Linked DNA regions of Homo sapiens: regions 1, 3, 4 and 5 are each linked to region 2. The links are contacts of gene promoters, found by promoter capture Hi-C in blood cells and fetal thymus (Javierre and others, 2016). All regions are on one chromosome and are shown on one strand. Each heading gives the region's core, a stretch centred on a gene start or on the middle of the fragment in contact. The rest is flanking DNA. Distances are from core to core; before and after follow the strand shown.

Region 1 (2,700 bases), core at 190-2,689, 360 kb after region 2:
ACTGAGGTGCCACAGAAATTGTCAGGAAACTGTCTTGGCCTTGGGATGCCACTCAGATCTCTGGGGCAAGTGCCACTGGTTGTCCTGTACAGGAGAAGAGTACTGCAGGAGCTGAAAGGAAGCAAAGCACAAAAGAACAGGAAAAGATGTCTTCATCTCCTGCTTGGCCCTCTAGCGCCCTCTATGGGTGAAGATTAACATCATGCCCAACTGGCAAAGGAGAAATGTTCACAGGGTCCAGCTCCAGCATCACAAATAGGACAAAGGGGTGGGTGTGGAGCTGAAAATAAAGAAACTGATAACTGGCATACCCCTTTTCTCTGAAAAAGGATTGAGGAGGACTCCTAAGGTGAGAAGACTAGTTATAAAATTATATTTACAGAGTAAAGACAAATTTATTTGTCAAGGAGGAAGAAAATGTATGGATATAAAGTAGAACTATTTACAACAGAACTTTCTCATACAGTTCTCATCAAAAGACACTAATAGAAGTGTAGGTATAGGAGGTATAGGAGGTTTGAGTCTGAGTCTCAAAGATGTGCCAATGCCAAAACAAGGCAAGGGCAAGATAAATAAGATGGAGAGAGGCGTGGAAGATTGGCTCATGGGAGCAGACTCAATGCACTGTTGAGATTAGTGTTCAGTCTAGTAAAGTCTGAGTTGACCCCAAGTTGTAAAAAAAGACTGTAATGCTATTATTACAATAGCAATTGTAAATGCTTACAATTAGATTTCTGTCACAAGTACTGAAGTTGTAGATTTTGGGGGGCAGGAGGGAGAGAAAGGGAGGATGAGAGAAAGAATGGCTTTCAAAGTCAAATAAAGCAAGCTTTCAAAGTCTAGTCTTTGTAGATATTCAAAACTTTGCAATCAACATATTATTACTAGAAATAATTAACTGAAGCAACATTTGGATACAGAAATTCATTCATCCGTCTGTAAAGGACCAAATCACTCCCCTTCTTGAAATCTATAATTTGAAAAAAAATTTAATTCAATATAGTCCATAGGTTCAGAGGAAGAAAAAGTATAAAAAAAACAAGAAAAAAATTTTTAAATCGAAATTTGTATCCAAGGAAAAAGGTGCTTGGTTTACCCAGGAATTTATAATTTGTAAAGTCACACCTAATACCTATGCTCTGGCACACCCAAATACCTTTTATTAATTACTTGGTTTTCCTCAGTAAGAATTAACATGCTTCTCTCTGTTAGAAAAGTTTGAGAAAGGGAAATTGCATTGCTCTTTGTTATAGTTGTGTTTTGTTTTGTTTCGTTATTTGAGACAGCATCTCCCTCTTTCATCCAGGCTGAAGTGCCATGGCATGATCATGGCTCACTGCAACCTCGACCTCCCGGGGCTCAAGAGATCCTCCCACTTCAGCCTCTTGAATAACTGGGACTGCAGATGTGCGCCATGACACTTGCCTAATTTTTATATTTTTTGTAGAGATGGGGTTTCGCCGTGTCACCCAGGCTGGTCTTGAACTCCTGGGCTCAAGTGATCTGCCTGCCTCAGCCTCCCAAAGTGCTGGGATTACAGGCATGAGTCACTGAGCCCAGCCTACTGTTATATTTATTTTTGTGTCGGTTTGAGGCTGCCCAGATTCACATTGTTTCTGGGGTCGTCTGTGAGGGTGTTTCCAGAGGAGATTAACATTTGAATTGGACTTAATAAAGTAGATTGCTATTCTCAATGCAACTGGGCATCACCCAATCTGTTGAAGGCTTGAATAGAACAAAAATAGAGGAAGGACAGATTTGCCTCCCTTTTCCCCTGCCTCACTGCTTGAGTTGGACATCTCCTCTCATCTTCTCTTGCCCTCAAATTGGATTTACGTGATCAGTTGCTCTGGTTCTCAGGCCTTTGAACTCAGACTGAATTACACTTTCCTGAGTTTCTAGCTTGCAGAGGGCAGATCGTGGGACTTCTCAGCCCCAATTATCTTGTGAGCCAATTCCTTACAATAAATAAATACATACATACATACACAAATAAATTATTTGTCCTGTGTCTCTCAAGAACCCTGACTAATAGGGTATCCAAGCTTTTCAGTCTTATCTCCTATGACTAATTAATGTGCCTCATGCTACATGCAAATTGAGCTGCTTGTTATTTTTAAACATGTCATTGAATTAGGAATTATTTCAAACGTTCAGAAATGTGCTTCCATGTGTTCATTCAGCATTTATTATTGTTATTTAAAATATTCATTCATTTATTTATTTATAGATTTAGGGGGTACAAGTACAGATTTGTTACACTGATAGATTGCATAATGGTGAAATCTGGGTTCTTAGTGTAACCATCACCCAAGTAGAGTTCATTGTACCTGTCAGGTAATTTCTCAATCCTCGGCCCCCTTCTGCCCTCCATCTTTCTGAGTCTCCAGTGTCCATTATTCCACTTTCTATGTCCATGTGTACACATTATTTAGCTCCCATTTATAAGTGCGAAAATGTGATATTTGACTTTCTGGGTTATTTCACTTAAGATAATGGCCTCTAGTTCTATCTATGTTGCAGCAAAAGATACGATTTCATTCTTTTTAATGGCTGAATAGTATTCTATGGTGTATATATGTGTATACAGACATACACACACACCCCTCCAATCATTCGTTGATTAACCTAAGACACTTAGGTTAATCCCATATTTTTGCTACTGTGAATAATAGTGTTGTGATAAATACATGCATTCAG
Region 2 (2,700 bases), core at 49-2,548:
TCAGAAAGAAAATTTGAGGGCAGAGATGGCTCTACTCATTGGCCCAGTGGGTAACCACTCTGTGTGGTGACCAGAAGGGCTGCTAAAAGGTCCCACCAATCCCTACCGTCCCCCTTCCTACCAATAACCACTGATCCACTTGGCCTGCAATCCGCAAGTCAAATACGGTCTCCAGCAGACCCCTTGCAAATTCCATAGTGCTTTGAAACAAGTACAGCTATATATGCAAGGGAGGGGGAAACAAAAAAAGACTTAAAAGGATGTCCTGGCCGGGCGCAGTGGCTCACGCCTGTAATCCCAGCACTTTGGGGAGCCGAGGCAGGCGGATCACGAAGTTAGGAGATCTAGACCATCCTGGCTAACACAGTGAAACCCCGTCTCTACTAAAAATACCAAAAATTAGCCAAGCATGGTGGTGGGAGCCTGTAGTCCCAGCTACTCGGGAGGCTGAGGCAGGAGAATGGCATGAACCCAGGAGGCAGAGCTTGCAGTGAGCCGAGATCGCACCACTGCATTCCAGCCTGGGCGACAGAGCAAGACTCCGTCTCCAAAAAAAAAAAAAAAAAAAAAAAAAGGATGTCCCCAGCCAGGCGTGGTGGCTCATGCCTGTAATCCCAGCACTTTGGGAGGCCGAGGTGGGTGGATCACCTGAGGTCAGGACTTTGAGACCAGCCTGACCAACATGGAGAAACCCTGTTTCTACTAAAAACACAAAATTCGCCAGGCGTGGTGGTGCATGCCTGTAATCCCAGCTGCTCAGGAGGCTGAGGCAGGAGAATCGCTTGAGCCTGAGAGGCGGAGGTTGCAGTGAGCCGAGATCGCGCCACTGCACTCCAGCCTGGGCAACAAGAGCAAAACTCCATCTCAAAAAATAATAATAATAATAAATAAAAAATAAAAAAGGATGTCCCTAGTGGGATGGGAAGTAGCCCGGTAGCCTGGGACACTAACTTTGTTCCCATCACATTCTGACTTCCAGTTAGTGGTGAGACCTCAACTATCTTTCCCATTTGGTCAGAAAACCCAGACAGGAAGATGAGCCAGCACAGGACTGACCACCAGGGATTTACAGGCAGAGCCATTACTTACCATCAACTCTGGAAACGTGCCCATGTAACACACAAGTCCAACAAAAAACATCCAGCCAAGCACAATCATGATCAAACGTAAAACAATTTCTAAGATAAAATTGCACAGTGAAAGACTATTCACCAAGATCTTGGCAAAGGAGTGCGCTCACGAAACCTTCAGTTGGTAGAGGTCTCGCATGTCTGTTCGAGTCTTTGGCTCCAAAGGATCCACAACTCCCTAGTGGAGAAGCTGAAATCTAGTAGGGCATTGTGACATCATTGACCATATGGCCCAGACTCAAAACACACCAGAGACACTGCCCCCAGACCAGCAGCTGAGCAGCAAACAGCAACACTATGAAGTAGGCATTATTGTTAACCCCATTTCACTAATCAGAAAACTAAGGCTTAGACTACAGCCTAAGTGACCCGCACTACAGCACATAGCTGATGCTCCAGATCAGGGCCAAGACTTAGGACTCAGCTGCCTCTTGGGCAGCTGGGCTCTTTACACTAGAGGCAGAGATTTGGAAAGGTGTTTTGCTGCTAGGTGTACGACATGTGAACGAAACAAACTGAATTACAGGTAAATGAGACAGATGTCTCTATTTCTGTCCCTGCAAAACCTCCTCTCCCCATGTCAAGGGGATCCTCAGCATGATGGTATATCCACATCTTCATCACCTTGGATTAGTTCCTCTCCATTGATTCTCTTTTCTTGGCCATCATGAAGCCACAGGTACCCCTGTCCTTTCCTCAAAAAAACTTCCAGATGATACTGTGGCTCCTTCCCTGTCTTATTTCTTAATTTCCTTTTATGACCAAACTTCCTAAACAAGTGGTCCATACTCAAAGCTTTTTCCAATCTACGCCTCTTCCATGCATTACATTCTGACTTCTAGCCCCACCCCACTATTAGACACCCTCTCAGAGGTCACCAAAGATATTTTTTGCTTTTCTGCTACAACATCATGGACATTTAATGTATTTTTCATCTCTACAATTTTTTTTTTTTTGAGACAGAGTCTTGCTCTGTCGCCCAGGCTGGAGTGCAGTGGTGCAATCTCAGCTCACTGCAACCTCCGCCTCCTGGGCTCAAGTGATTCTCCTGCCTCAGCCTCCCAAGTAGCTGGGATTAGAGGCACCCGCCACCACGCCTGGCTAATTTTTGTATTTTTAGTAGAGATGGTGTTTCACCATGTTGGCCAGGCTGGTCTCGAACTCCTGACCTCAGGTGATCCACCCGCCTCAGCCTCTCAAAGTCCTGGGATTACAGGCATGAGCCACCGCGCCTGGCCTGTTGTGATATTTCCTGCTTCTTTAAATGTCTTACAACTTTTGATTAGATGTTGAACATGGTAAATTTTATTGCCGAGTGCTGGATTTTGTTGTATTCAACAGTGTTAAATTTTATTCTAAGGTGCACTTAAGTTACTTGCGATCAGTTTGATTCTTCTGAGGCTTGTTTGAAGCTTTATGATAGGCCAGGAGCAGCCTTTACTCTAGGGTTAATATCCGCACTGCTGAGTTAATGACCATTTTCTCTGAGCACCTTCTCTGAGGCTGATTGTATTAGAGCTTTTTTTTTTTTTTTTTTTTTTTTTTGGAGACAGAGCTTTGCTCTTGTTGC
Region 3 (2,700 bases), core at 188-2,687, 500 kb after region 2:
TTCAGTATGGCTGGGGAGGCCTCAGGAGACTTACAATCATGGCAGAAGGGGAAGGGGAAGCAGGCACCTTATTCACACGGTGGCAGGAAGGAGAAGTGCGAGCAGGGGAAATGCCAGACGCTTATAAAACTATCAGATCTCATGAGACTCACTCATTATCATGAGAACAGCATGGGGGAAACCACCCCCGTGATTCACTTACCTCCACCTAGTCTTGCCCTTGATACGTGGGGATTATGGGGATTGCAATTCAAGGTCAGATTTAGGAGGGGACACAGAGCCAGACCATATATCAAGTGGCATGGCTGGATCATACGGTAGGTGTATGCTTAACTTTTTAAGAAACTTTCAATTTGTTTTCCTAAGCAGTTTTTTACCATTTTACATAACCACAAGCAGTGTATGAGACATAATTCCAGGTCCAATTTCTCCTCAACCTCACCAACACTTAGTATGGTCAGTCTTCTTAATTTTAGCCATGCTAATAAGTATGTAATGATAGCTCATTGTGATTATAATTTGGACTTCCTTAATTCCTAATGATGAGCATCTTTTCATGTGTTTATTTGTACTCTGTGTATCTTTTTTGGTGAAGTACCTGTTTGAATCTTCTGCCTGCTTTTTAATTGTGTTGTTTTCTTACATTTTCTTCTAAAAGTTTTATAATTTTAGGTTTTACATATAAGTCTGTGATCCATTTTGAGTTGATTTTTGTATAGTATATGGTGCAAGGATGGATGAAGTTTATTTTTTTGCTTATGGATATTTAATTGTTCAAGTTCATTTGTTGAAAAGACGATCCTTTCTCCACTAATTGCTTTTGTGTCTTTGTCAAAAATCAGTTGTCCACATACTTTATAGTTTGAAATCTTTTCTTTTTAAAGATAGACATCAAGCACTATAGAATTTTCCCTAAATATTTATGCTTTACCAGTATTCCACAATTTCTGATATGCTGTGTTTACAATTTTTTTTGAGACAGAGTCTCGCTCTGTATTTTTTGTAGAGATGGGGTTTTGCCATGTTGGCCAGGCTGGTCTTGAACTCCTGGCCTCAAGTGATCCCCCTGCCCCGGCCTCCCAAAGTGCTGGGATTACAGGCGTGAGCCACCATGCCCGCAGAAGTTCAGAATACTTTCTAATATTCTTTACTTTTTCTTTGGTTTATAGGTAAGTTTCAAATATTTGGGAATGTTTCAGTTATCTTTCTCTTGCTGTGGTTGGTGAACACTGAATCCTTTTAAATGTGTTGAGATTTGTTTTATAGCCCAGAATATGGTTTTAAGTAAACCTGAAATATTTACCATGTTGACTTAAAAAGCATGTGTGTTCTGCTGTTGCTGGGTGGAATATCTTATTCTCAATGTCAGATCAGGTTGGTTGAGAGTATTGTTCAGATCTACTTTCTATTCTACAATTATTGATAAATTATGGTTAAACAAATTTTTTTAAAAAGAAATAAAACCTGTGTTTTAAATGAACTCTTAGGGTGAAAGTCTCAGTTTTAAAATTGAGAAAACAGCGCTACTGTTTGAAGGAGGTTATTGGTGCAGGGCAAAGTCATGTTCTTTGGCCTCCTTTTGCTCCCTTACAAGAGGTGCCCTTGAGGCACCACTCAGAACTGAGCTCTCCACTGACAATTGAGGTCCCTGGCGCAAAGTCTGGTGAGTTTATATCTCAGTCTTGTCGCCTATCGTTCTGTAACCATGAATTCAGTGTGCGAGGACCAGAGACCTCCAGATACTTCCTGCACTTTCACGTGTCCATGGGCACTATTCATGCCGCTCTGCTTAGAATGGCTTCCAGCTGGCAAAATCCTTCTCATTGTTTATGGCCCGGCTTCAATGTCACCTCCTCTGTGATGCCACCCCAGACACTCCAGTCAGAATTAACCTGTCTTGTTTTGGTGTTCCCACAGAATTGCTTCACTCTGTTACATGTGTCCTCTGATGGATTTAAATTCCTTCTCATCAAAGCATAATGTCACCCCTTCTGAAATGCCTTCTTTTCAATGTCATGTCTAAAGTAGCCCGCTTTATCTTGGTTTCTAGCACATATCTTATTTTCTTTGTAGCATTTAGAAATTGTGTAGTTTAGTTGTTTTATATTTATTGTTTGTTCATTTCTTTAGAATGAAAATTCCATGGGACTGAGCCCTTATTTAGCTTGTTCACTGATGTATCCCCAGAACCTAAAACAGTGCCTATTAGGTTTTTCAGAAAATATTTGGGGAGTAATGAATGAATAGATGAATACCTGAGAGGTAGCATGTTGTGCTGGTTAAGAACATAGTCTCGCTGGGTACTTGCCTGTATTCCCAGCTATTTGGGAGGCTGAGGCAGGAGGATCACTTGAGCCCAGTAGTTGGAGGCTGCAGTGAGCTATGATAATGCCTGTGAATCTGTGAATAGCCACTGCTCCAGTATGGACAGGATAGCAAGACCCCCATCTCTTTTAAAAAACAAGACCATAGGCTCAAATCAGACTCATGGGTTCAAATCCTAGCTTTGCTCTGCTGAGACTGTATAATCTTGGGCAGGTTGCTACACTTTTTAAACTTCAGTTTGCTTATGAGTGTAATGGGGCTAACAATGATAACTAGTTGATAGAGTTGTTTTGAGAATTAAATGAGATAGCATGCAAGCCACTTCACTGTGCCTGGCATTTAATACTTGTTCAATGAATGTTAATTTTATTACTG
Region 4 (2,500 bases), core at 1-2,500, 310 kb after region 2:
CTAGGAGTCTTATTTCTAAGGATTAAGCTCCAGTGTTCCTTTGGAATGGAACTGGTTTATTCACATATGGCATTCTGGGCTCACTTTAGAAATAGCTATGGAAGAGACTGACCCAAGTCATGGTAGTAATGAGATTAAGTATATTTCTTAGTGGTTCTGAAATTTTTTGGGGTCACCCTATAAGAATCTGATGATTCCTTTTAGAAAAATGCAGTCATGCAAAACTTTGCACAGCTGACCGCCTGCAGGTTTTTCATGGGCCCACATTAAGAGACCTTGGTGATTAAGCCTGTGAGAGGATAAAACTGGGTGTGGGGGTTAGGGAGATAGGTATGTATGTGTTTTCTTCCTAAAAATGTGTCAAGGAATTTTTAGACATAACCTGATCTAGGACTTTAAAAATAAAATAAAATTAAAGTACACACTGGTACTTGTGTCAGAACTATTGCTTGCGTTTCCTCCCAGGAGAAGCTTCTTAAAAGACCCCCAAATGCCTGTCTTATATTCCTAGCAAAAAGTCTGGAAGGATATGCAGTGGTTATCTGTGAGTGATGGAATGATAGAATTAAAAGAAGAAAAAAGAATTTATTTCTTTTGCTTTTGATTACCTAAAGTATCTAATCTTTAAAAATAAACAGGTTATAGGAAAAATAGCTATTTTTAAGTTTTCAAAAGCCAAATAGCAATGTTTTTAAAATGTAGTAATAGAATGCAGTTAAACTCTATTCTTACCTATTAGGTGATAAATAAGCATTTTCTAGAGTTTATTTCCTATCTAATTTACTGATTCCTTTTCATTTCATAGGCCTCATTCACACTTGCTTTCCTGGGGTTACAGTCAGCTGATCCTTCATCTAATTAAACTTCCTGCAGATTTTATAACCAAAGAGAAAATGACAGACATCTGCAGGTCTTGTGGGTAAGTGAGAATTTTTTAGAAACTGAAGTTAAGGTTAGAAACATTTCAGTTAACAACTTTATAGTTAAGGGTCTGAATTAATACACATTAATATTTGGGGATTCTCTTTGCTATTTAAAAGTACCTTTTTGTTTTAAGTGATAGTAAATTAAACATCTTTTTTCCATTTAAATTTCTTGCTTTTTTCTTTTTTTTTTTTTTTTAAATAGCCTTAGCTAATTCCCCTCCACTCCCTCTGCTTAGTTGCCAGCCCCAGTTCTCAGGCATGTAGATAGTATTTAATTAAGCACCAGATTATGTGATACCAATTATAATTGATAGACTTTTATAATTAATACAGTAAGAGAGAGATCAAAATGGGCTCAATAGCATCGCTGGTGAAGGACTCAAGGAGGAGGTGAGATTTTGGAGGTAAAACCTAAAACCTGGGTAGGATTTGTATTTATAAAGGAGCCAGGAGAGGGTGAGTTAGGTGAGAGAAACAGAGCAAGGGCGTGGAAAACTGGCATTGCTTATTATCCATGTCACACTTCAGTCAGTTATTTATTGCCTGGTGATACTGGCTTATGGCTCCAACTGGATTATAATCTTTTGGAGATAGCAACTTGTGTCTTTCTTTTCCCTCATAATGTCTATATCTAATTTGTATAGTGGTAGGCACTTGATACATATTTGTTCATTGTAATGAGGGCTGAGTCTGGCCAGGTGGTGGGTGACAAGATCATGCAGGACCTTGAAAGCTGGTAGAATAATTTAGTTATCAGTAGAGACCCTTTTAGACTGAACTACTTGGTGCAAAAATTGTGTAATGAAAGTGGAGCTTTCTAGAGATCATTTCTGATGTCATATATGAGAAGGCTGGAGACAGAAGGCCAGCTAGGAAGCTGTTGGAGTAATTCAGATATGAGTGGATTGGTGATTAGTAGGGCAGCAAAAGGAGCACATCCAGTGGGCATTTCAAAGGAAAATGCAGTGGGACATGCTGATACTGGATATAGCAAATGAAGGAGGGGGAAGAGTCAAGGAAGACTTCCAAGGTTTACATATTTGGAGAAGAAATATGCTAGGTTTGTGTTGAATTTTAAAGTTTATAAATTGAATAAAGCTTAAATGCCTTATAATTGGAGCTTGGCCTCAAATGTCAGCATTTGTTGCTAGGTTTTTTGTTTTTTTTTTTTCCCTAGATCAGGGTCATCTAATAGAACTTTCTGTGATAGTGGAGATATTCTACTGAACTGTCCAATGGTGGCCACTAGCCACATGTAGCCATTGACTACTTGAAATGTGAATATATTAACTGAAAAACTGACTTTCAGATGTTATTTACTTTTAATTAATTTAAATTGAAATAGCCACATGTGACTGTGTCTACTGTTTTGGGCAGCACAGCTCCAGATAAATTCATGGCCTTTTATTCCTTTCTTCAACTTCGGTCTCTTTAAAGTTTCTGGCCTGGATATCTAATTCTCTGTTTGGAGCTGGAGAGAAGAAGAGAGGCCTTCACCAATATTGTGTATCTGAATGATATGAGCCTGATGGAAGGGGACAATGGTATGTCAATCCTAACTGGTTACTCTTGGT
Region 5 (2,700 bases), core at 169-2,668, 480 kb after region 2:
CCTGTGGACTTTTGGGCTTTTCTGATTTTTGTTTTTCTAATTCCTAATAGAATTAAGCCTTAGTATTCTCCTCTTCTACTTAAATTAATTGTAACTTAAAAGAATGGAGGTGTCTTGGGCCTCTCAATCAGCCTGGTCACACAAGGTTATCAGAGTAGTGCTACCATCTGATTTACTGTTCAATCCAGGCCATTGTAGACAATGAAAAGATGTGCCACTATTAAGCTTGGACAATAGACACTGATCTCATGCAAACCAGCACACGTAGTCACTTGTAAGAGACTGTTGGAAAATCCCTTTAAGGCCTGGGGACTCTGATATCATGACAGGAAATCTTTCTTTTTCAGGAGAAACAAGTGAAAAGAACTGACTGCCGTTATTGTCTATTATTCTCAGCTTGGCACCATAAGAAACTGCGTGTACCTTCCCGGAAGGCAGAATACATTAAGTAACAAAGGAAGAAAACAGGCAAGGCTTGTCAAAGTCCCTGTGAGGAGTTCCTCTTGGTATCTAGAAATCATACTCGCTTTCTTGCTCTTTTTCCTGTGAGTCAGTGTGTCACTTTGTCACCCAGGCTAGAGTGCAGTGGTGTGATTATGGCTCACCATAGCCTCCAACTCCTGGGCTCAAGCAGTCCTCCTGCCTCAGCCTCCTGAGTAGCTGGGACCACAGGTGCATACTACCACACCCCGCTAATTTAAAAAATATATATACAGATATATAGTGGAGATGGGGTCTTGCTATGTTTCCCAGGTTGGTCTTGAGTTCCTGGCCTCGAGTGATCCTTCTGCCTCAGCCTCCCAAAGTGCTGGTATTATAAGCATGAGCCAGTGTCTCCACGCCACTTGCTTTCTAATACTTCTGTATTAGTCCGTTCTCATACTGCCATAAAGAAATGACTGAAACTGGGTACTTTATAAAGAAAAGAGGTTATATTGGTTCATGGTTCTTTAGTCTGTACAGGAAGCATAGTGGCTTCTGCTTCTGGGGAAGCCTCAGGAAACTTTCAATATGGCAAAGGCAGAGCGGGAGTGAGGCATCTCATATGGTGGGAGCAAGGACAAAAGAGAGTGAGGGGGGAGGTACTGCACACTTTTAAATAACCAGATCTCAAAAGAATTCACTCACTATCACGACGACAGTACCAAGGGGGATGCTGTTAAACCTTTCATGAGAAACAGCCTTCCTGATTCAATCACCGCCCTCTAGGCTCCACTCCCAACATTGGGAATTACAATTGAACATGAAATTTGGGTGGGGACACAGATCCAAACCATATCAACTTCTATCAAAGAAGAGAATGACTTGAATAAAACGAGAAAGTAGATTTCCAGCATTGAATGGTTCCAAAGGGAGTAAAATAATTGTGACAGGATGTGATCATTGGCCCTCAATTTCTGCCTGAAGAAGAGTAGGAAAAAGGAGGTCTGGACATCACATGCCCTGCTTTATGAAGCAGCTCCTCCAAGTACACCATGACCAGTGGCTGTGGATGGTTGACAACTCCCCTCCTCTTCCCCCTCTTCTACTGTCTACTCCTGGGACCAAGTGAGCCACGCCAGCTCAGATACTACACTGACCACAGGGAATCCCACCTTTTCCAAGGAATGGAAGTTGTGTAGGGAATATTCAAATGTTGCTTAGCATTGCCTTAGATAAGAACCAAAGGGACAGGGAAATCCTCTGACAGCTATCTGCCTTATAACTTTCATTTTACTGTGCCTAAAATATGCTCAGAACCCAGAAAGAGGCATAATTCCTAATTTTGGCAGGCTCTAATCTAAAATAATGATTCTCAAACATGGTGTGACTTTTGTCTATTTGCTTTATCCTGGGTCACTGCTCCTCTTCTGTCAGATACTGGGATTCCAATGAGACAAATGGAAATGGAGACGTAGACCCTCTGACCTTCTATCTTTTATCTATACACATACACCTGTGTGTGTGTGTGTGTGTGTGTGTGTGCGTGTGTAAAACCGAGTGGGTTTTTTTCTTGGAATGAAAGAATGGACTAACATTACAAAAAATAAAAACTTGAAACAGAATGTGTATTATCCTTGGTTGTGTTTCCTTGGCCCTGCAGCAGGATGAAGCTCTCCACTGGCATCATTTTCTGCTCCCTGGTCCTGGGTGTCAGCAGCCAAGGATGGTTAACATTCCTCAAGGCAGCTGGCCAAGGTGAGGTCCACAGGATAGGGGGCAGGAGGCTGCTTCTGGCTGCCCCCAGGATGCAGCTGAGCAGAGGCCACATCCCCACTGGGCAAAGGTGCTAGTGATGCCACAGATGGATAGAGAAGGGGCATGGTTTTTCATAAGCGTGGTTCCTCATGCTTTTCTGGACAGCTTTGACACTCTTCTATGAGGATCCTCCAGCCGAGGTCGCATAAGGTGTGAGCTGCCTCTTTTCAGCAGGACCATGAGAGAGATGTGGAGTTGAGGGGTGCATGTTCCCATAATACCGGTGGGGCTCTACTGCCCCCTAGTGGGAAATCTGGGACAGTTCATGTCTATGTCTCCTGGGAAGCCAGGAAGCAGGTGGATCAAAAGTGTGAGGCGAGTCCATGGGGAAGCTGAACGGAGCCAACCGTCCCCATAAAAACAACCAAGCTTAGCTGAGATTTTAATACGTACTAGGCACTGTTTAAATGTACTAATGAATTGGTTTCCATCATTTAGTCCTATGATGCAAGCAGCATTATC

Evidence for each region. The method cuts DNA at HindIII sites, captures the fragments that hold promoters and counts their contacts. A CHiCAGO score of 5 or more calls a contact.
Region 1: a fragment that was not itself captured here is called in contact with the fragment with the promoter of MISFA in region 2 in 1 of 17 cell types (megakaryocytes); the score reaches 5.1 in megakaryocytes.
Region 3: a fragment that was not itself captured here is called in contact with the fragment with the promoter of MISFA in region 2 in 3 of 17 cell types (total B cells, total CD4 T cells and naive CD8 T cells); the score reaches 6.8 in total B cells.
Region 4: a fragment that was not itself captured here is called in contact with the fragment with the promoter of MISFA in region 2 in 1 of 17 cell types (erythroblasts); the score reaches 5.5 in erythroblasts.
Region 5: a contact is called between a fragment that was not itself captured here and the fragment with the promoter of MISFA in region 2, in 1 of 17 cell types (total B cells). The highest score is 7.9, in total B cells.

Annotation. Positions count from the first base shown.
Region 1 is chr11:18,241,426-18,244,125 of GRCh38, reverse strand. The region is part of intron 3 of SAA2-SAA4 (SAA2-SAA4 readthrough); the gene reads left to right. It also overlaps a transcript of SAA2 not described here. Among named protein-coding and RNA genes, the nearest start is that of SAA2, 5.9 kb to the left of the region's middle. RefSeq lists a silencer at 30-324 and an enhancer at 50-344. The HindIII fragment of the contact is 1,216 bases long and covers 832-2,047 here.
Region 2 is chr11:18,598,387-18,601,086 of GRCh38, reverse strand. It overlaps MISFA (mitochondrial sheath formation associated), which reads right to left and starts at 1,298. Exons shown (of 4, transcript NM_001355570.4): 1 at 1,090-1,298. The coding sequence starts at 1,158. It overlaps LOC112268073 (a long non-coding RNA gene), which reads left to right and starts at 1,540. Exons shown (of 4, transcript XR_002957242.2): 1 at 1,540-1,656. The HindIII fragment of the contact is 4,225 bases long and covers 1-1,927 here.
Region 3 is chr11:18,098,869-18,101,568 of GRCh38, reverse strand. All of the region lies in intron 2 of SAAL1 (serum amyloid A like 1), which reads left to right. Among named protein-coding and RNA genes, the nearest start is that of SAAL1, 5.9 kb to the left of the region's middle. The HindIII fragment of the contact is 8,611 bases long and covers 1-2,700 here.
Region 4 is chr11:18,283,765-18,286,264 of GRCh38, reverse strand. HPS5 (HPS5 biogenesis of lysosomal organelles complex 2 subunit 2) reads left to right here. Exons shown (of 23, transcript NM_181507.2): 20 at 806-919; 21 at 2,364-2,470. Among named protein-coding and RNA genes, the nearest start is that of SAA1, 19 kb to the right of the region's middle. The HindIII fragment of the contact is 1,553 bases long and covers 474-2,026 here.
Region 5 is chr11:18,115,464-18,118,163 of GRCh38, reverse strand. It overlaps the pseudogene SAA3P. Among named protein-coding and RNA genes, the nearest start is that of SAAL1, 11 kb to the right of the region's middle. The HindIII fragment of the contact is 2,382 bases long and covers 228-2,609 here.